Linked DNA regions of Homo sapiens: all the other regions are linked to region 5. Evidence: promoter capture Hi-C in 16 types of primary human blood cells and fetal thymus (Javierre and others, 2016). All regions are on one chromosome and are shown on one strand. The core of a region is centred on a gene start or on the middle of the fragment in contact, and the rest is flanking DNA. Distances in the headings are between cores, read along the strand shown. Region 1 holds the start of ZSCAN22 (zinc finger and SCAN domain containing 22). Region 2 holds the start of NLRP9 (NLR family pyrin domain containing 9). Region 3 holds the start of NLRP8 (NLR family pyrin domain containing 8). Region 4 overlaps LOC124904784 (a long non-coding RNA gene). Region 5 holds the start of USP29 (ubiquitin specific peptidase 29). Region 6 overlaps ZNF329 (zinc finger protein 329).

Region 1 (3,628 bases), core at 10-2,509, 1.2 Mb before region 5:
ACATATTATCTCAGGTACAGTCTGTCAGCCACAGCCTTCAAAATACCCAGACACAGGAAATATCTCAATGTCACCTATAATCAGTCAAATAAACACAGGCCTGGCCAGGCATGGTGGCTCATGCCTATAATCCCAGCACTTTGGGAGGCCTAGGCAGGTGGATCACCTGAGGTCAGGAGTTCCGGGCCAGCCTAACCAACATGGTGAAAGCCCGTCTCTACCAAAAATACAAAAATTAGCCAAGTGTGGTGGCCGGTGCCTGTAATCCCAGCTACTCGGGAGGCTGACGCAGGATAATCGCTTGAACCCGGGAGATGGAGGTTGCAGTGAGCCGAGATTGCGCCACTGCACTCCAGCCTGGGCAACAGAGCAAGACTCCGTCTCAAAAATAAACACAGGCCCTCGCAGCATTTCCATCACACAGTATTATTCTGATCACAGTCATTCATAATCTTAGTCACCATCTCAAGGACACACAAAGAAAATCAGTCACACTTGAAATCCCACCGTCACACGCTCACCCTCTCACAGTATCTCACAACCCACGTAGGAAGTCTCAAACGGCAACCATCTCTGTCAGTCACACACTCCATGGTTAGTGTTACACTCAACCTATCAGAATCACACACTCCAACCCGTCAGATACACACACCCAAGAGGTGTCAGACACAGAACCGCCTATCAGACACATAAACGGGTCCGCCCCACACCCTCCCAGGCCACTGGTCCTACATTTTATCTGTTATCTGTCCGCCCGCTCCACACTTCGTCCGCCCCACACCCGGTCAATCAGTCCATCCGACACACACTCCGTCAGTCCGACACATTCTCCGTCGGTCCGTCCGGCACTCAGTGTGTCATTCCGCACCACATTCGGTCCGTGAGTCTGTCCACACCGGGTCCGTCAGTCCGTGCACACACGGTCCGTCCACGCCTGGTCCGTCAGTCCGTCACATCCTCTGCGCGTGTGTCCGGCACTCGCAGTCCGTCTACTCACGTCCCCTAGTCAGCCTCTCACTCTCTACCCGCTGGGCGGTACCCCGCATCTCGCTCTGGCCGCCCCAGAGGTTCGCGGCTTCTGGACCTGCTGTGCCCCTCTCCAGCCTGGATCAGGACGGAGAACACCCCCGAAACCCACCTCACCAGCACAGCCGGCGGACCCTTCCGGAGGTGGCCGCAGAGACTAGCCAACTTGCGCGCCCGCCGACCCGGACCACAGCTCCCAGCACACCTCAAGGGCCCACGCCCGCCAGGACTACAATTCCCGGCGTCCTCCGGAAGCTCAAGTGTACCCAGGCGCGGTGCCTGCTGGGAATTGTAGTTGACGTTGGTCAGCACGGAGGCCACAGGATCCCAGCCCGGCCTTTGTGGGACTGAGGTGGCGCTGAGTGGGAGAGCAGCAGGCGATGCGCGAAAGGCGGGACTTGGAGGTGAGGGAAATGTGAAGGCTGAGGGTGAGAGTGCCTGTGTGAGGCTGAGGGTGCCTGTGTGAGGGTGAGGGTGAGGGCGGCTGTGTGAGGGCTGAGGGCTGAGGGTGCCTGTGTGAGAGCTGAGGGTGCCTGTGTGAGGCTGAGGGTGCCTGTGTGAGGCTGAGGGTGAGGGCGGCTGTGTGAGGGCTGAGGGTGCCTGTGTGAGAGCTGAGGGTGCCTGTGTGAGGCTGAGGGTGAGGGCGGCTGTGTGAGGCTGAGGGTGGCTTTGGGAGGGCTGAGGGTGTTTGTGTGAGGGGTGAGGGGTAAGGGTGAGGCAAGAAAATCGGGTCTGGAGGCAGGGAACCTAAGGACTTCCTAGAAGTAAATCAAATGGAAACTGCAGCTATGGTAGGAAATATCCTCTCCATTTATGCAGGGCGTACATGGAGTAAATCACTTTGTAACTTTACTTCGTCCTCTTCATTTACATAGGGCATATACCAAGTAACCAATGGAAACCTCTAGAGGGTATTTAAACCCCAGAAAATTCTGTAACCGGGCTCTTGAGCCCCTATGCTCCGGCCTGCTCCCATACAGTGGAGTGTACTTTCATTTTCAATACATCTCTGCTTTTGTTGCTTCATTCTTTTCTTTGTGCATTTTGTCCAATTATTTGTTCAAGATGCCAAGAACCTGGACACCCTCCACCAGTAACAAGGGTACCTGGGTGAGAGGTGAGGGTGCCCATGTTAGGAGTGAGGGGAGAGGGTGCCTGTCTGAGGGCTTGTGGGTGTGAGTGTCTGTGTAAGTACTGAAGGTGCCTTTGTGAGAGGTGAGCGGTGTGGTTGCCTATGTCAGGGTGTGTATTGAGTGTAGCTATGTGTGGCTCTCTGTGAACACATGTAATCATTTTTATAAATGTGTATCATTTTTTACTGAATTTGAGCTGGGCGTCTGTCTGCATGAGTCACTCTGTGACCAGGTTTGTGGGTTGTTCTGTGTGCTTACTCTGCGTGTGTGTGACCTGTGATTTAATCATCATATGTGATAATCATGCAGCTGTGTTTGCCTGCACCAGGTGTAATTGTGTCTGAGACAGATACTTAGAGGTAATGGGGTGGACCTGACACAGTATAAAGGCCCTAGACTGTGTGTGATGTTGTTACGGTGACTGTGAATGGTAGTGTGATTGTGTGATTCAGTCGATGCCTGGACTGTGTGTGAGAATGTATCTTCTCTGTGTGTGTGTGTATGTGTAAGAGACATTGAGCAGGAGACTCTGGCTTGGGGCCCGATACATAGAGGTTGGTGGCCCAGCCTATGTTCAGGTGAGGCCTTTTTGAGGCAGGGTGTGTATGATTGCTTGGTGGTGCTGGTGGTGTTTCTTGGCCCCAGCCTGTGCTCACATCCCCTATTATTCTCAGACTTTGCCCTGCAGACTGCTAGCAGCTGGAATGAGCATATATTCTTTTCCTTCCACAGATAAATACTGAGCACCCACAACAGGCAGCCAGCACCACTGCAGATTGGATACTGCAATGATGATAAGCATGGCCTGCCTTTATGGAGGTGATGTTATTGTGTGGGGAGGCAGATGGTAAACAAAGAAGTCATTTTTCTGAGAAGTTGGTATTTAAGCTGAGGCCTGAATAGAGCGAAGAACTCAGGGAGAGTAAGTTCAAGGTAGATGGAACACAAATGCCCACGTCAGGAGGAGGCATGGATGAGGAAGACTGGCTGGGGTGGATTAAGGGAAGGAGATGGGAGGGGACAAGGACAGAAAAGGGAGGCCTGTGGGGGCAGATCTTGAAGGGCTTGTGAGCCACATACGACTTTGTTTATTTATTTTTTGTAGAGACAATGTCTCACTGTGTTGCCTAGGCTGCTTTTGAACTCCTGGCCTCAAGCAATCCTCCTGCCTCAGCCTGTCAAAGTGCTGGGATTACAGGCGTGAGCCACCACACTTGGCTCACATACAGACTTTGATTTCCACCTTGAGAGAAGTGGGAGCTATGGGAGGCCTTTGAGCAGAGGAGGGCTGTGCTGTGACTTAGCTCTTCATAGGAATTCTCTGGCCGCTGCAGGAGAAGACTGTCAAGATGAGAGTGGAGTCAGGGAGACCAAAGATGCAATTGCTTTGAGAGTACTGGCACCTGAGGCAGGTAGCTCAGATCAGGGTGGTCAAACGGTGGTGTGGTAGAGATGCTAACAGGTGGTCA
Region 2 (3,303 bases), core at 700-3,199, 1.4 Mb after region 5:
TGTGTCTGGAAGCTTCTGCCCTACATTTTCTCCTAGGAGTTTTATACTTTGGGCCTTCCATTTAGATCTTCTTCAATCCATTTTGCATTAATTTTTGTTTATGGTATTAAGGGTCCAAGTTTATTCTTTTGCATGTGACCATAGATGGTATGTAACCTTTGCTAATGGTTTGTAATTATCTGAAAGGTATATTAGCTCAGATACAATGATATTGCGTTTGTCATCATCTCCTTATGTGTAAAGTGGTATTCCCAGGTGCACATATGCTCATGAGTTCTAGATCTTGGGGAACTGAATCTTGGTGTTCAAAAATTCTTAGTCCATTTAGTGCTTTCTAGCTTGAGTGTTTTTCAATGCTGATATTTTATACTATTAATACTTTTTTGGGTAAGAATTTGCCAGGCTTTTTCTTCTTCTGTTTTACTTCTCTGTGTATTTTCTAGGATTCTCTTATAAACAGCATATAGCAGGATTTGTATTTATCCAATGTGAGTCTATATATTAGTGAGCAATTTTATTTCATTCATATGTGTTAAGATTATATTTAGGCTGGGCGCAGTGGCTCAAGCCTATAATCCCAGCACTTTGGGAGGCTGAGGCAGGTGGATCACCTGAGGTCAGGAGTTCGAGACCAGCCTGGCCAACATGGTGAAACCCCATCTCTACTAAAAATACAAAAAAAAAAAATTAGCCGGGCATGGTGGCAGGTGCCTGTAATCCCAGCTACTTGGGAGGACGAGGCAGGAGAATCATTTGAACCTGGGAGGCAGAGGTTGCAGTGAGCTGAGGTCATACCATTGCATTCTAGTCTGGGCAACAAGAGTGAAACTCTATCTCAAAATACATATCTATATATATTTGGTATTATTTTTGCCACCTGTCTTATTTTGTCTACCATATATTTCTACTTCATTTCCTGTCTTTTGTTGAATTGCAATGATTATCTGAAGGGTTTATAATACTGGGAACGTTCACTGCTCTGTTTCTGTCTGAGTTGTCTGCAGATGCTAACCTATAGTAAATCTAACTTTTTCCTTATATACTGTAATAAGAAGGCATATACCGGCCGGGCACGGTGGCTCATGCCTGTAATCCCAGCACTTTGGGAGGCCGAGGCGGGTGGATCACGAGGTCAGGAGATCGAGACCATCCTGGCGAACACAGTAAAACCCCATCTCTACTAAAAATACAAAAAAATTAGCCGGGTGTGGTGGCAGGCACCTGTAGTCCCAGCTACTCAGGAGGCTGAGGCAGGAGAATGACGTGAACCCGGGAGGCAGAGCTTGCAGTGAGCCGAGATTGCGCTACTGCACTCCAGCCTGGGCATCAGAGCGAGACTCTGTCTCAAAAAAAAAAAAAAAAAAGAAGGCATATACCACTAAACGATAAAAAAAAATTTAAATTTGCTTTTATGTCCTCTTCCTTTATTTTCATCTTCCTGAATGTGATCATCTGTAATTTTAATATCCGTTCATTTTTTCATTATCAAAATTGGATTAGACTATACTAAGGATGGGAAGGTCTACAGAGCAAACAAACTCATAGAATGCTGGTAGGAATGTCAGTAATTATATACACAAGGGAAAACCGTTGAGTGTTATGTAGCAAACATGGTGACCTGTGTTTGCTGTTTGACCTATAATTTATAAATCTAGAGAAATGTGTGCTTATATACACCAAACTACACAAAAACACTTGTTCCTGGAAGCATCATTTATGTCAGACAAAAACAAGACACATAAGTGGCAGTCAACTCTACCATTCACATGCATTTGTTTGGAAAAAGATGAAGCTTCTTCCCTAGATGATGTTTGGTGCAAGCTACGCATGATGATATCAATAATTTTGAGCTGCTTTCAGCTGCTGAAGCTTAACTCTGTAATCATGTCATTCTTCTCCAGGTATCATTTATTCTTTATTTTTGAGGATCTTTCTTTTCCCTCTGGAGACACCTCAGTTCACAATCCTGGGGCGATATGGCAGAATCTTTTTTTTCGGATTTTGGCTTGTTGTGGTATCTGAAGGAGCTCAGAAAGGAAGAGTTTTGGAAATTTAAGGAGCTCCTCAAACAACCTTTGGAGAAATTTGAACTCAAGCCAATCCCCTGGGCTGAGCTGAAGAAGGCCTCCAAAGAAGATGTAGCAAAGCTGCTGGACAAACATTACCCAGGAAAGCAGGCATGGGAGGTAACACTGAACCTGTTTCTACAGATCAATAGGAAAGATCTCTGGACAAAGGCTCAGGAAGAGATGAGAAGTAAGTGCTGGATGATGGGGCGAGGACCCATGGGGGAAGCCTGGGAACAAGGTGATAGCATTGTTAAATGAGTGGCCACCCCCTCCATCAGATGAGAATGTGTGTGGGTCAAGGTGAGAGTTGAAGGTAGGAAGAGTTGCAGGCCAGGGCTGTTCATATGTGGGCCAGCGATGAACTGGGGACAGATGGCGTCCTGATACCAACTGTTCACCTATGGAGTGTCTTCCCATTTTTCCACCCCAAGTGGAGTCGTTGTTATAGGAGATGAGTGGCCAGTTAGTGTCTGCATTGCCAGGTCTACTGAGATGGAATTCTAGTATGGTAGTTGCCTATCTTTTTTTTTTTTTTTTTTTTTTTTTTAGAGAAAGGGTCTTGCCATGTTGCTCAGGCTGGTCTTGAACTCCCAGGCTCAAGTGATCCACCTGCCTAGGCATCCCAAAGTGCTGTGATTACAGGAGTGAGCCACCATGCCTAACTGCCTGTCCTTTTTGACCAGACATGTACCAAGGAGTAGGTAGAATCTTAAGACAATCAGACAGCGTATGTCCCGGGTACTACAGGAAGCATTCTTGCGAGCTTGTTTGGAGGTTCTAGTAGGGGAGCACAGCTTCTCTTCTGCCCGCGATGGAAGGACCTTCCTCTATGGGCAAAGGTTGTCATCGTCTTTGACCCAGGGGAGACTTTCAGGACGGACGCATATGGAGCAGTGAGGGAGGAAGTGGACACCCACCCAGCTGGCCACATCAGCCGAATTAGCCCTGGGGCGACCAATGGGGTGACAGACATCACAGCCAGGTTGTCCTCACGTCCTGGAAGCATTCTTTCTGCATAATGTCTTTTCATTCTTATCACAACCCAGGAAAGGTTTACAAGTGAGAAAACTGGACAAAACAGTGTTCCCATGTGTTACATGACTTTTCCAAAAGTGACAGATCTGACTCCGAACCAGTTCTGCTGGACTCATTGATGGGGTCTACACCCTCCTCTCGGGGGATACTTAGGAAAAACTAAATATATTCCCTATTAGGTATCTAGTAATTAGCATTT
Region 3 (3,247 bases), core at 351-2,850, 1.2 Mb after region 5:
ACCCCGTTTCTACTAAAAATACAAAAATTAGCTGGGTGTGGTGGTGCGCACCTGTAATCCCAGCTACTGGGGAGGCTGAGGCATGAGAATTGCTTGAACCTGGGAGGTGGAGGTTGCAGTGAGCTGAGATCACACCACTGCACTCCAGCCTGTGTGACAGAATGAAGACTCCATCTCAAAATAGAAAAAAAATACATACCGATCTATGATAAAAGTTTAAATTATAAATTAGGTACAGTAAGAGATTAACAATAATAATGAAATAGAACAATTATAATACTATACTATCATAAACGGTATGTAAATGTGGTCTCTCTCTGTCTCAGAATATCTCAGTGTACTGTACTCATCTATTTTTGGCCATGATCAACCCAAACTTCAGAAAGCAAAACCTTGGATAAGGGGATGACTGTAGTCCAGCTCTGCTTTATTCATATTGAAGATGAGGTTTTGGATTACAATATCCTCCAGTGGGATTCACCCTTTGTTGCTGCGAAATGGCCTTTTAAAGTGTTTAACCTTCTTGCTTTAAATATAGCACTCCTGACATCACCATAGCTATACCAGCTGTCTTCTGCTGTTTCCATAGCATATGCTTTTCCACTATTTTACTTCCTACTTCTCTATGACTTCATTTAACGTTCACCTCATATAAGCAGTATTCAGTTAAGTTTTTAAAAAATAGGCCCATATGGGCTGGGCACAGTGGCTCACACCTGCAATCCCAGCACTTTGGGGGGCCAAGGCAGGCGGATTACCTGAGGTCAGTAGTTCGAGACCAGCCTGGCCAACATGGTGAAACCCCGTCTCTACTAAAAATAAAAAAAAATTACCCAGGCATGGTGGTGGGTGCCTGTAATCCCAGCTACTCAGGAGGCTGAGGCAGGAGAATCACCTGTACCTGGGAGGCGGGGTTTGCAGTGAGCCGAGATTGTGCCATTGCACTTCAGCCTGGGCAAGAAGAGCGAAACCCCATCTCAGAAAAATAAAATTAAAAAAATGCCCGTATGACAGTCTTTGCCTTTGGGTTAGATCCATTATCTTCCTCCACTGTTTGCTTTCTTGCTCAGAAGGCCAATAAGTGATAGGGGTGGTGACTAGAGTAGTTTAGCTGCCCAGCAGCCAAGCCCACCCCCACTTTATCCACCAGATCAACACTCACCATTTATCTCTCTGCGGACTACAACACACATTTTATCACAGTTCATAATGGCAAAGATGTTCGAAGTCACATCCCAAGCGCGTCGTCCAGGGAAACGCTCTATCAAGAGATGAACCACCTCTGCCCAGCTGGCTGTCTCGACCTGGTCCCAGGTGATGGGCATGGTGCCAGTACTGAGCTCAGTCAGTAAGAGCTGCTTGAACCGTTGTAGCTCCTCATGGCTCACGTTTCTCATGTACAGCATGACCCCATTTTCACATGGGGAGCCGGGGTAGCAAGAGAATGTCCAGGGCGGAATATGAGAACTGTGAGTGGAGGAGGATGAAAAGGGAATGGGGGTGTCAGAGGGTGGATTCACGTCACTCATCTTTAGTCAAGGCAGAGAACACCTCAGTGTCCACGATAAAGACAACCGATTGGAAGAGAGAAACACGAGACCTGCAGAGACATAAAACAATAAAACAAGAAGATGAAAACACTACCCAAGAAAACAGATTCGTGTAATGCTTACTTGGCAGGTATTCTGCGTGCCGGGTACTCCCTTTACCTCCTTTCCTCAAAGATTCTCTGCCCTATGGAAAAACTGAAGATGCATGGAATGTTTGGGATTAGTCCATTAGACTAATGGATTGTTTGTAGTTTCTATTCTCCATGACTTCTTTTGGGGAAGAGGCAAGCAAAATATCAAAGCCTTCACAAAAGGTTTAGCGAAAAGAAAAATTAGAAGCAGGTAAAATAATTCAGTGAAGCTAAAATCTAGAAAATATATGGTTGGTTAGAAGGCTCCATTAGATTAAAAGTGATCTCAAATTCAACAAAGTTTTTATTCTTAAAAAAATGGATCATGTATTAGAGAGATGCAAATCAAAACCACAACGAGATGTCATCTCACACCAGTCAGAATGGTGATTATTAAAAAGTCAAGCAATAACAGATGCTGTATTCTTAAAAAATGGATCATGTATTAGAGAGATGCAAATCAAAACCACAACGAGATGTCATCTCACACCAGTCAGAATGGTGATTATTAAAAAGTCAAGCAATAACAGATGCTGGTGAAGTCGCAGAGAAAAAGGAACACTTATACTCTGTGTGTGGGAGTGTAAATTAGTTCAACTACTCTGGATGACAGTGGGGCAACTCCTCAAAGACCTAAAAAGAGAACTACCATTCAACTCAGCAATCCCATTACTGGATATATATCCAAAGGAATATAAATCATTCTATTATAAAGACACATTCCTGTGTATGTTCATTGCAGCACTACTCACAATAGCAAAGTCATGGAATCAACCTAAATGCCCATCAGTGATAGACCGGATAAAAAAATGTGGTACATAAACACCATGGAATACTATGCAGCCATAAAAAAGAATGAGATCATGACCTTTGCAGGAACATAGATGGAGCCAGAGACCATTATTCCTTAGCAAACTAACACAGGAACAGGAAACCAAATACCACATGTGCTCATTTATAAGTGGTAGCTAAACGATGAGAACACATGGACACATAGAGGGAACACCACACACTGGAGTCTGCTAGAGGCTGGAGGGTGGGAGGAGGGAGAAGATCAGGAAAAATAACTAATGGGTACTGGGATTAATACCTGGGTGATGAGATAACCTGTACAACAAACCCACCCCCATAACACGTTTGCCTATATAACAAACCTGCACATGTACCCCTGTATCTAAAAGAAATGTAAAAAAGAAATAAAATAAAAAGGATCATGGGTGTATTTTTGTCCCCCCTGCCCCAACTTCCAATAATAGTTTATTTATTTATTATTTATTTATTTACTTAGAGACAGAGTCTCACTCTGTTTCCCAGGCTGGAGTGCAGTGGTGTGATCTCGGCTCACTGCAACCTCCACTTCCCTGGTTCAAGCAATTCCCTTGCCTCAGCCCCCTGAGTAGCTGGGATTACAGGCACCTGCCACCATGCCTGGCTAATTTTTTTGTATTTTTAGTATAGATGGGGTTTCACTATGTTGGCCAGGCTGGTCTCAAACTCCTGACCTCAAGTGATCCACCCACCTCAGCCTCCCAAAGTGCTGGGATTACAGGTGTGAGCCACTGCACC
Region 4 (3,189 bases), core at 556-3,055, 1.0 Mb before region 5:
ATACATTTTATTATTGATGGACTGCTGGGCTGTATCCAGTTTTGGCCCCTTATGACTAATGCTTCTATGAGTGTCCTTTTAGATGTCTTTTGGGGACATGGCTCATACTTCCATTGTAAGAAATTACTATTATGTTCTCTTGGGCAGTTTTTCCAGAAAGAATACAAATTTTGAATGCTAACAGGTCTGAAAATGCTTACTCTCTCCTCATATGTGTGAATGATATATTTGCTGAGCATCAAATCCTGAAATCAGAGTCTTTGTGTTTCTGGAATCTTCACTTATCTTCTAGTGTCCAGGGTTTCAGAAGAGAAACCAATGCTGCTTATACATACCCTGTGCTCTTTGTAAGGGATTTGCAATGAAACTTGTGAAGTTTGCACTAGTTTTGGAGTATGGGTACTTCACCAGACTATGATGTCTTTTTAACCCTGCCAAGACATTGGACATGCCCTTAGAAATGTGAAGATACGTACAACTCATTTTTTTTATTTTTTTGAGATGGAGTTTTGCTCTTGTCACCCAGGCTGGAGTGCAATGGCACAACCTTGGCTCACTGCAACCTCTACCTCCCGGGATCAACTGATTCTCCTGCCTTAGCCTCCCAAGTAGCTGGGATTACAGGCATGTGCCACCACACTCAGCTAATTTTTCTATTTTTACTAGAGACAGGGTTTCACCATGTTGGCCAGGCTTGTCTCAAACTCCTGACCTCAGGTGATCCTCCTGCCTCGGCCTCCCAAAATGCTGGGATTACAGGTGTGAGTCACCGTGCCTGGCCAACATACAACTCTTTATGATGCTTCTATTCAAGTAGATAGAAGAATGCTATTGGCAAAGTATTAGCAAGTTAGTATAAAGCTCTCTGATTTGTTTGGAGTGATAATATTTGGATTATGCAGAAAAAAATTGATAGCATATCCTTCAGCCCTCATCTAGGACTATCATAAAATTATACACATAAGGATCCCCATGATGCTAAAAGGTGTATGATTCCTGCACCATTCTTCAAGGTTGACGGTTCTTTTATTCATACGTGATGTAGAAAAATAGATACGCTGTTGCCATATGATTCCTGCACCATTCTTCAAGGTTGACGGTTCTTTTATTCATACGTGATGTAGAAAAACAGATACGCTGTTGCCACTGATAACATTTATGGGCAACCCGCTTGGGTCCCCTTCCACACTGTGGAAGCTTTGTTCTTTCGCTCTTTGCAATAAATCTTACTGTTGCTCACTCTTTAAAAAAAAAAAAATTTACATGTGATTACCTATGACAACCATTTCTCTTCTTTTCTTTTCTTTTAGACAGGGTCTCGTTTAGTCACCCAGGCTGGAGTGCAGTGGTACCATCTCAGCTCACTGTAGCCTTGACCCCCTCAAGCAGTCCTCACTTCCCAAGTAGCTGGGACTACAGGAATGCACCACCACGCACAGCTAATTTTTGTATTTTTATTAGAGACGGGGTTTCTCCATGTTGCACAGGCTGGTCTTGGACTCCTGAGCTCAAGTGATCCACCTGCCTTGCCCTCCAAAAGTGCTGGGATTACAGGTGTGAGCCTCTGTGCCCAGCCATGATTATCTATGGCAACCATTTTTTTTTTTTTTTTTGAGATGGAGTTTTGCTCTGTTGCCCGGGCTGGAGGGCAGTGGTGTGATCTTGGTTCACTGCAACCTCCACCTCCTGGGTTCAGCTATTCTCCTGCCTCAGCCTCCTGTGTAGCTGGGATTACAGGCATATGGGAGACATTTCTTTTTCTTTTTCTTTTTTTCTTGTTTTTTTTGAGACGGAGTCTTGCTCTGTCACCCAGGCTGGAGTGCAGTGGCACGATCTCGGCTTACAGCAAGCTCTGCCTCCTGGGTTCACACCATTCTCCTGCCTCAGCCTCCTGAGTAGCTGGGACTCCAGGCGCCCACCACCACACCCAGCTAATTTTTTTTTTTTGTATTTTTAGTAGAGACGGGGTTTCACGGTGCTAGCCAGGATGGTCTTGATCTCCTGACCTCGTGATCCACCCGCCTCGGACTCCCAAAGTGCTGGGATTACAGGCGTGAGCCACTGTGCCCAGCCGCATATGGCCAGACATTTCTATGAGACATTGTTCATCAGGCCTAGACCCTGAGTCCCCATTAAATGGTGTTTCTATGGCAAATTAGGGACATATGTAGAATAGAACTGCTTATCCCTGCTGATCTGTGGCTGCAGGGAGTCACAAGTTTGCAGTCTTGTTACATTCAGATACTTAAGAGTTAAAAAATAACTGGTGGCTTTTGCCTCCTTTATCCCTGATGTCAAATAAAATGGAATTCCAACCAATAGCTTTTCCACATTGATCTTTTTTCAATGAGTTTTTCTAATTTGTTTGAATTTCCTGGTGTCAAATAAGGTAAAAGCCATGGTTGAAAGCTTGCCAATACTGACTGCATTCATAGTGTTCTCCAGTATGAGTCCTCTTACGTTCAATAATATGAGAACAACTCCTGAATGCTCTTCCACGCAAATTACATGTATGGGGTTTTCCTCAGTATGAGTCCTCTGATGTCACATCATAAGGGCTAGGCTACGTCTGAAGCCTTTCCCACGATGACTGTATCCATCACTTTGCTCTCCAGTGTGTCTTCTGTGATTTTTGAGTAGTGGAGGAGCAAAGTGTAAAACCTTTCCCTGAATGATTCCCTTCATAAGGTGTCTCTATAGATTCTTAGCTATAGGGTAAAAGTGTTCACTTCTTTAGAAGAATTTCCTAAATTCACTGCAAATATATAATTTCCCACAAGTATAAATTGTCTCATATTGAATAAGGTATAATTTGTGTCTACAGCCTTTGCTACAGCGATTACATTTATAGTATTGTTCTCCTGTATAAGTTCTGAAACATACTGAAAGAAATATTTCTTAATAAAGACTCTCCAACACTCAACACATTTGTAAGGTCTATTTCCTGAGAGAGTTTGCTCATACATCAGTGGGGTTGAGCTCTGTTTAAAGACTTCTTTACACATACTACATTTATATGGTCTCTCTCCAGTATGACTTCTCTGATGTCAGAAAGTATTTACCATAAACAGGGATTTCTCACATTCAGAACATCTGGAGGGTTTGTCAACTGTGTGAGTGCTCTCAAAACAAAGATGAGAGGAGCTCTGAATACACTTTTCCACATTCCTTACATTCAACTCAACTCTC
Region 5 (3,174 bases), core at 201-2,700:
ACATAAGTATATATAACATATAAGTATGTATAACATATATAAGTATATATAACATATATAAGTATATAACATAAGTAGATATAACATATATAAGTATATATAATATATAAGTACATAACATATATAAGTATATAACATATATAAGTATATATAACATATATAAGTATATATATAACATATATATCCTACATTTTCAACACGTGTAACAAATGTGGATAGTTTCAAAAAGATCATTTTACGTTCTAGTAGTTACCCTGTTTGACCAAAGTGTAGTACTTTTATTTTTCTATTGCAGTGCATTTTCTTTTTTTTTTTTGGCGGGAGGTGAGGGAGCGGAGCGGGGATGGAGTCTCACTCTGTCACCGAGGCTGGAGTTTAATGGCGTGATCTCGGCTCACTGCAGCCTCTGCTTCCTGGGTTCAAGTGATTCTCCTGCCTAAGCCTCCTGAGTAGCTGGGATTACAGGAGCCCGCCACCACGCCTGGCTAATTTTTTGTATTTTTAGTAGAGACGGGGTTTCGCTATGTTGCCCAGGCAGTCTCGAACTCCTGATCCGCCCGCCTTGGCCTCCCAAAGTTCTGGAATTACAGGAGTGAGCCACCGTGCCCGGCCTTTTTTCTGTTTTTTTTTTTTTTTTTTTTTTTTTGAGACGGAGTCTCTCGCTCTGTCGCCCAGGCTGGAGTGCAGTGGTGTGATCTCGGCTCACTGCAACCTCCACCTCTGGGGTTCAAGTGATTCTCCTGCCTCAGCCTCCCCAGTAGCTGGGATTACAGGCACCCACCATCATGGCCAGCTAATTTTTGTATTTTTAGTAGAGACAGGGTTTCACCTTGTTGGTCAGGCTGGTCTCAAACTCCTGACCTCAGGTGATCTACCCGCCTCGGCCTCCCAAAGTGCTGGCATGACAGGCGTGAGCCACCGACCCAGCCCTTTTTTCTTTTATATAGTTTTTGAGACAGGGTCTTGCTCTGTTGCCCAGGCTGGAGTGCAGTGGTGCGATCATACCTCACTACACCCTCGATCCCCAAGGCTCAAGTCATCCTCCAACCTCTGCCTCCTGACTATCTGACACTACAGGCGTGGGTAATTTTTAAATTTTTTTGAGACATAGTCTCACTTTGTTGTCCAGGCTGGAGTGCAGTGGCATGATCTCAGCTAGCTAATTTTAAAATTTTTTGTAGAGATGGGTGGGGGGAGGGTCTCACTATGTTGCCCAGGCTGGTCTCCAACTCCTGGGCACAAGCGATCCTCCCGCCTCGGCCTCCCAAAGTGCTGGGATTACAGGCATGAGCCTGGCCAGCATTTTCTGTTTGAATGTTTTTACGTAACCGGAGTCGTCATGATGGAGGTACAGTTCCTTGGACTTCCGGCTCCCATGGCTCTGGAAATCTCAGCTCGGACCCGCCCCTTCCGGCGCCGACTCCCCTGATTCTCCTGGGAACAGAAGAGTTCTGGGCACAGCACGCTGCGTCTGCGCAGTGCCGGGCGCAGGCCTCCCGACCTACGGGTCTAGGTACGGGCTCTAGCGTGGCCGGGGCACATAGAGTTCCTGGCCTAGAGCTGGTGGGGCGTAACGGCAGGAGTTAGGGTTCAGAGAAAACCAGCCCAGGGGCGGGTTCATCCTGTTACCCATTCAGCCTCAAGCGAGGTGGGGTGTGGTAGGTGGGCTGGTGCTAGAAACCACGCCGGGAATTGTTAATAACAGTCATCCCGGCCGGGCGCGGTGGCTCACGCCTGTCATCCCAGCACTTTGGGAGGCCGAGGAGGGCGGATCACCTGAGGTCAGGAGTTTGATATTAGCCTGACCAACGTGGCGAAACCCCGTCTCTACTAAAAATACAAAAATCAGCCGGGCATGGTGGTGGGCGCCTGTAATCCCAGCTACTCGGGAGGCTGAGGCAGGAGAATCGCTTGAACCCGGGAGGCGGAGGTTGCAGTGAGCGGAGATGGCGCCACTACAATCCAGCCTGGGCGACAGAGCGAGACTCCGTCTCAAAACAACAACAAAACCCCCAAAAAAGCGGTCATCCTCCAGGTGGAAGAGACAGAAGAGAGGGTGCGGAAGAGACTTAAAAGTCTTAGGCCTTCAAGCGTGTTTGCCTCAGCCACCCGTGAATCCTACAGGAAAACTAAAACAACTCGGCCACAAGCCCCCAAGTCTTGGGGAAGCGGACGGTTTCCCAGCCGAGCTTTAGGAGGAGGCGCCGCGGGACCTCACGGGTGACGTCGTCCCCGGGGGTAGTTTGCGCAGAGGGTCGCTTTGGGCGCGCTTAGAGTCGCGTGGTGCCTGGGCCAGCGAAGCCCAGGTGCAGTCATTTGTGGCCCTGTCCCGGCGCGCGAGGGGCCAAGGCTGGTCGGGGGCCGGGTCCGCGCGGTAGCAACTGCGTCCTGCCAGCTTCCATCTCTCCCTCTGAGGGCCTGAGCGGCTGCCAGAGTCAGGTCTGCAGGCCGGGCGCTCACGCGTCTGTGCCCAGTGAGGCCCCAAGATGCTGGTGAGGCCTCGACCCTGACTGGTGTCCAGGCTCTTGACACTGTCGTGAGAAGGAATTCATGGATGAGCAGAACAAAGTGTGGAGATTCATTGCGACGGGAATAAGTACGTACTGAAGAAAGAAAAGTGCAGGCATACCACAGAGCATCACGCCCAGCGGGGTTTGGAGCTACCTTTAAATATTTATTTAACCAAGGGGTGGAATATTCATGAAGATTCTTGGAAAAAGGTAAACATTTCTTGGTACTGCGGTGCCACACATTTTTATACTAAATACGGGTGTTCCCCAGAGCTGTCACAGTGGGTGTGTGACTTAGTATGTTAATGAGCACATAATGAGAGGTCCTAGGTGAAACGGGTCGAATCCAGCACCATGTTGGGTCCAGTCGGCTTTAGCCAGCTTGGCCCACACCCTGGTTTTCAGAGTCTTATCCGCCCCTAGCTTACGCAGCGATTTCAACGGTTTCCTTTGCTAGTCATGTGAAACTGTTGCCTGGAATTTTCCGTTCTCCTGTGACCACCTTTATTATTCCTGTCTCAAGGGGCACCCCATTTGTGCCTATAAGGAGACTGCATTGGGACCAGGCTCCTGGCTGCTCATGGAGCCTCAGCCAGATGGTTGTGTGCCTGAGTCCTGTGTTCATTCCACAAACATGCAGCAAGGCTGCGTGGGTTGGAGCCCT
Region 6 (3,242 bases), core at 93-2,592, 1.0 Mb before region 5:
CTCTTCCCTTGTGACCTACCAAAGCTTTATATTATTGTACTTCATTTTATTTTTACTCACGTGAAATGTGTATATTTTGTGTTCTTAAAGTCGCAGTTTGGAATTGCCTGAATGATAGAATGAGAAAATAAATATTGATGTTTTCAGGACATTTCTTTTTTTTCTTTCTTTTTTTTTTTTTTTTGAGGCAGAGTCTCGCCCTGTTGCCCAGGCTGGAGTGCAGTGGCGCTATCGCGGCTCACTGCAAGCTCTGCCTCCCGGGTTCATGCCATTCTCCTGCCTCAGCCTCCCAAGTAGCTGGGACTACAGGCGCCCGCCACCACGCCTGGCTAATTTTTTGTATTTTTAATAGAGACGGGGTTTCACCGTGTCAGCCAGGATGGTCTCGATCTCCTGACCTTGTGGTCCACCTGCCTCAGCCTCCCAAAGTGCTGGGATTACAGGCGTGACCCACTGCTCCCAGCCAATGTTTTCAGGACATTTCTATTTTCCCTTCACGAAGTGCTCTTTGATTACTTTGCCCATTTTTTTTCTTTTTATGTGCTGTTCTGTAAGAATCCTCTGTAGTTCTTGGGCAGTAATTCTTTGTGCTTTTAAATCTTATTTTCTCTCTGTAAGAATCCTCTATAGCTCTTGGGCAATAATTCTTTGTGCTTTTAAGTCCTATTTTCTCCCTATCTGCCACTTGCATTTTGTCTCTTATTGTGTCTTTTATTGGATGGAAAATTTGAATGCTGATATCAGACTTCTTAATCCTTGTCTGTTTTTTATTTTTTGGTTTTTGTTTTTTGTTTTTAAGACATGGTCTCTTTTGCCCAATCTGGAATGCAGTGGCACAATTACAGCTCACTGCAGCCTCAGCCTTCTGTGTGGGCTCAAGTGATAACTCCCACTTCAGCCTCCCAGAGTGCTGGGATTACAGGCATGACCCCCAATGCTTGGCCATATGGTTTTTTGGTTAAGTTTTGTTGATCAAAGTCTGCCACACTTATGAAGGCATACTACATTATTTAAACTTTGACTTTATGTTGCAGCCTGTATCCTTCTGAAATGTAAATACACGCGCACACACACACACACACACACATATACACATATACATGTATATATATTTAAATTGCCTAGAATGTAGACATATATGTATGTATGTATTCTGAGGCAAGGGTCTATTTTCATTTTACCTTAAAAAATAGAAAGAAGGCTGGGCACAATGGCTCATCCCTGTATTTGCAGCATTTTGGGAGGCTGAGGTGGGATAATTGCTTGAAGTTTTTGAGATTGAGGCTTCAGTGAACCAAGATCACACCACTGCACTTCAGCCTGAATGACAGAGCGAGACCCGATCCCACCAAATGAATGAACGAATGAATGGACAACCAGTTGTCTTAATATTGTGAAGTCTGAATGGACAAGGATGGTGACAGGAAGATTGATATGCATGAAGACACATGCAACCATTTACAGAATGCCCTTCATCCCCTAGCCTTGGAGACTGCTTTGTACATGATCCAGTTTTTTTTTTTTTTTTTTTTTGAGACGGAGTCTTGCTCTGTGGCCCAGGCTGGAGTGCAGTGGCACGATCTTGGCTCACTGCAAGCTCCGCCTCCCGGGTTCGCGCCATTCTCCTGCCTCAGCCTCCCGAGTAGCTGGGACTACAGGCGCCCGCCACCACGCCTGGCTAATTGTTTGTATTTTTTTAGTAGAGACGGGGTTTCACCACGTTAGCCAGGATGGTCTCAATCTCCTGACCTTGTGATCTGCCCACCTCGGCCTCCCAAAGTGCTGGGATTACAGGCGTGACCACCGCGCCTGGCCGACATGATCCAGTTTTTATAACAACCATGCAGGGCAGTCTTTGACAGTTTTTGTTTTGTTTTGTTTTTTGAGATGGAGTCTCACTCTGCCGCGTAGGCTGGAGTGCAGTGGTGTGATCTCAGCTCACTGCAACCTCTGCCTACCAGGTTGAAGTGATTCTCCTGCCTCAGCCTCCAGAGTAGCTGGGACTACAGGCATGTGCCACCACGCCTGGCTGATTTTTTTTGTATTTTTAGTAGAGACGGTGTTTCACCATGTTGGTCAGGCTGGTCTTGAACTCCTGACTTCAAATGATCCACCTGCCTCCACTTCCCAAAGTGCTGGGATTACAGGAGTGAACCACTGTGCCCCGCCAGGTCATTGACAGTTCTAAGACTTAGACCCAGAACTTTTAGGTCACCAAGCCTGTGCTTTGTCCTATCCATGAATGCAGAACTTTGATGACAGAGCTGGGGTGAGAACTGTTCCTTCAGTGCTGTTGTAAGCTCATTGTGAAGTCAGAGCTTTGGAAATGTGTACTGATGGGCAGTGTGTGACAGGGACAAGAATGCAGTGGCTGGGATGGAATTCTAGGGGGAGCAGGGATGCTTGGCCTCTGGTCTCTCACATCTCAAACTAATCCTTTTGGTGATGATTTATCCCGAGGTCCATTCCTCCTGCCTGCTCTCTAGGAAGATGAAAATGCTACATGGCTCTTTTTGAATCTGTTCTTGGTTCCATTCCTTGGCTACGATTTTACCTCTTCCTTGTATAAATTTGAATTTAAAAGAGAAAACAAGTAAAAAAATACACATCTTTACACCTAGCCCATCATCATTGTCTGTTTCTCTTACAGATAAAGCTTCATATACCTAAGTCTGCATTTTTCTTCTTTTTGCAGTTTGGGATATGAGATTGAAAATGACGACTCGGAATTTTCCTGAGAGAGAAGTACCCTGTGATGTAGAAGTGGAAAGATTCACAAGGGAAGTTCCCTGCTTGTCCAGTTTAGGTGATGGTTGGGACTGTGAGAACCAGGAGGGACACTTGAGGCAATCAGCTTTAACTCTGGAGAAACCAGGGACTCAGGAAGCAATTTGTGAATATCCTGGTTTTGGGGAGCATTTGATTGCAAGCTCAGACCTTCCACCGTCTCAGAGAGTTCTGGCAACAAATGGTTTCCATGCACCTGACTCAAATGTTAGTGGTCTGGATTGTGACCCCGCCTTACCCAGCTATCCTAAAAGTTATGCAGATAAGAGAACTGGTGACAGTGATGCCTGTGGAAAAGGCTTCAACCATTCCATGGAAGTTATTCATGGAAGAAATCCAGTGAGAGAGAAGCCCTACAAATACCCTGAAAGTGTTAAGTCTTTTAATCATTTTACCTCTCTTGGTCATCAGAAAATAATGAAAAGAGGCAAGAAATCGTATGAAGGTAAGAATTT

What was found. The method cuts DNA at HindIII sites, captures the fragments that hold promoters and counts their contacts. A CHiCAGO score of 5 or more calls a contact.
Region 1: a contact is called between the fragment with the promoter of ZSCAN22 here and the fragment with the promoter of USP29 in region 5, in 1 of 17 cell types (naive CD8 T cells). The highest score is 6.9, in naive CD8 T cells.
Region 2: a contact is called between the fragment with the promoter of NLRP9 here and the fragment with the promoter of USP29 in region 5, in 1 of 17 cell types (M0 macrophages). The highest score is 7.5, in M0 macrophages.
Region 3: the fragment with the promoter of NLRP8 here is called in contact with the fragment with the promoter of USP29 in region 5 in 10 of 17 cell types (M0 macrophages, total CD4 T cells, neutrophils and 7 more); the score reaches 19.8 in M0 macrophages.
Region 4: a fragment that was not itself captured here is called in contact with the fragment with the promoter of USP29 in region 5 in 2 of 17 cell types (fetal thymus and total B cells); the score reaches 6.0 in fetal thymus.
Region 6: a fragment that was not itself captured here is called in contact with the fragment with the promoter of USP29 in region 5 in 1 of 17 cell types (total CD4 T cells); the score reaches 5.3 in total CD4 T cells.

Annotation. Positions count from the first base shown.
Region 1 is chr19:58,324,625-58,328,252 of GRCh38, reverse strand. ZSCAN22 (zinc finger and SCAN domain containing 22) reads right to left here and starts at 1,259. Exons shown (of 3, transcript NM_181846.3): 1 at 1,139-1,259. LOC105372480 (a long non-coding RNA gene) reads left to right here and starts at 1,005. Exons shown (of 3, transcript NR_144444.1): 1 at 1,005-1,430; 2 at 2,892-3,081. RefSeq lists enhancers at 959-1,288, 632-1,374. The HindIII fragment of the contact is 13,061 bases long and covers 1-3,628 here.
Region 2 is chr19:55,737,048-55,740,350 of GRCh38, reverse strand. NLRP9 (NLR family pyrin domain containing 9) reads left to right here and starts at 1,949. Exons shown (of 9, transcript NM_176820.4): 1 at 1,949-2,256. The coding sequence starts at 1,977. It also overlaps the pseudogene RN7SKP109. The HindIII fragment of the contact is 10,494 bases long and covers 1,872-3,303 here.
Region 3 is chr19:55,946,185-55,949,431 of GRCh38, reverse strand. NLRP8 (NLR family pyrin domain containing 8) reads right to left here and starts at 1,600. Exons shown (of 10, transcript NM_001433706.1): 1 at 1,163-1,600. The coding sequence starts at 1,529. The HindIII fragment of the contact is 8,931 bases long and covers 1-3,247 here.
Region 4 is chr19:58,166,250-58,169,438 of GRCh38, reverse strand. All of the region lies in intron 1 of LOC124904784 (a long non-coding RNA gene), which reads right to left. Among named protein-coding and RNA genes, the nearest start is that of ZNF274, 15 kb to the left of the region's middle. The HindIII fragment of the contact is 1,212 bases long and covers 1,200-2,411 here.
Region 5 is chr19:57,118,261-57,121,434 of GRCh38, reverse strand. It overlaps USP29 (ubiquitin specific peptidase 29), which reads right to left and starts at 1,450. Exons shown (of 4, transcript NM_020903.3): 1 at 1,206-1,450. The HindIII fragment of the contact is 8,956 bases long and covers 1-3,174 here.
Region 6 is chr19:58,128,965-58,132,206 of GRCh38, reverse strand. ZNF329 (zinc finger protein 329) reads left to right here. Exons shown (of 4, transcript NM_024620.4): 4 at 2,696-3,242. The coding sequence starts at 2,704. Among named protein-coding and RNA genes, the nearest start is that of ZNF329, 20 kb to the left of the region's middle. The HindIII fragment of the contact is 2,632 bases long and covers 27-2,658 here.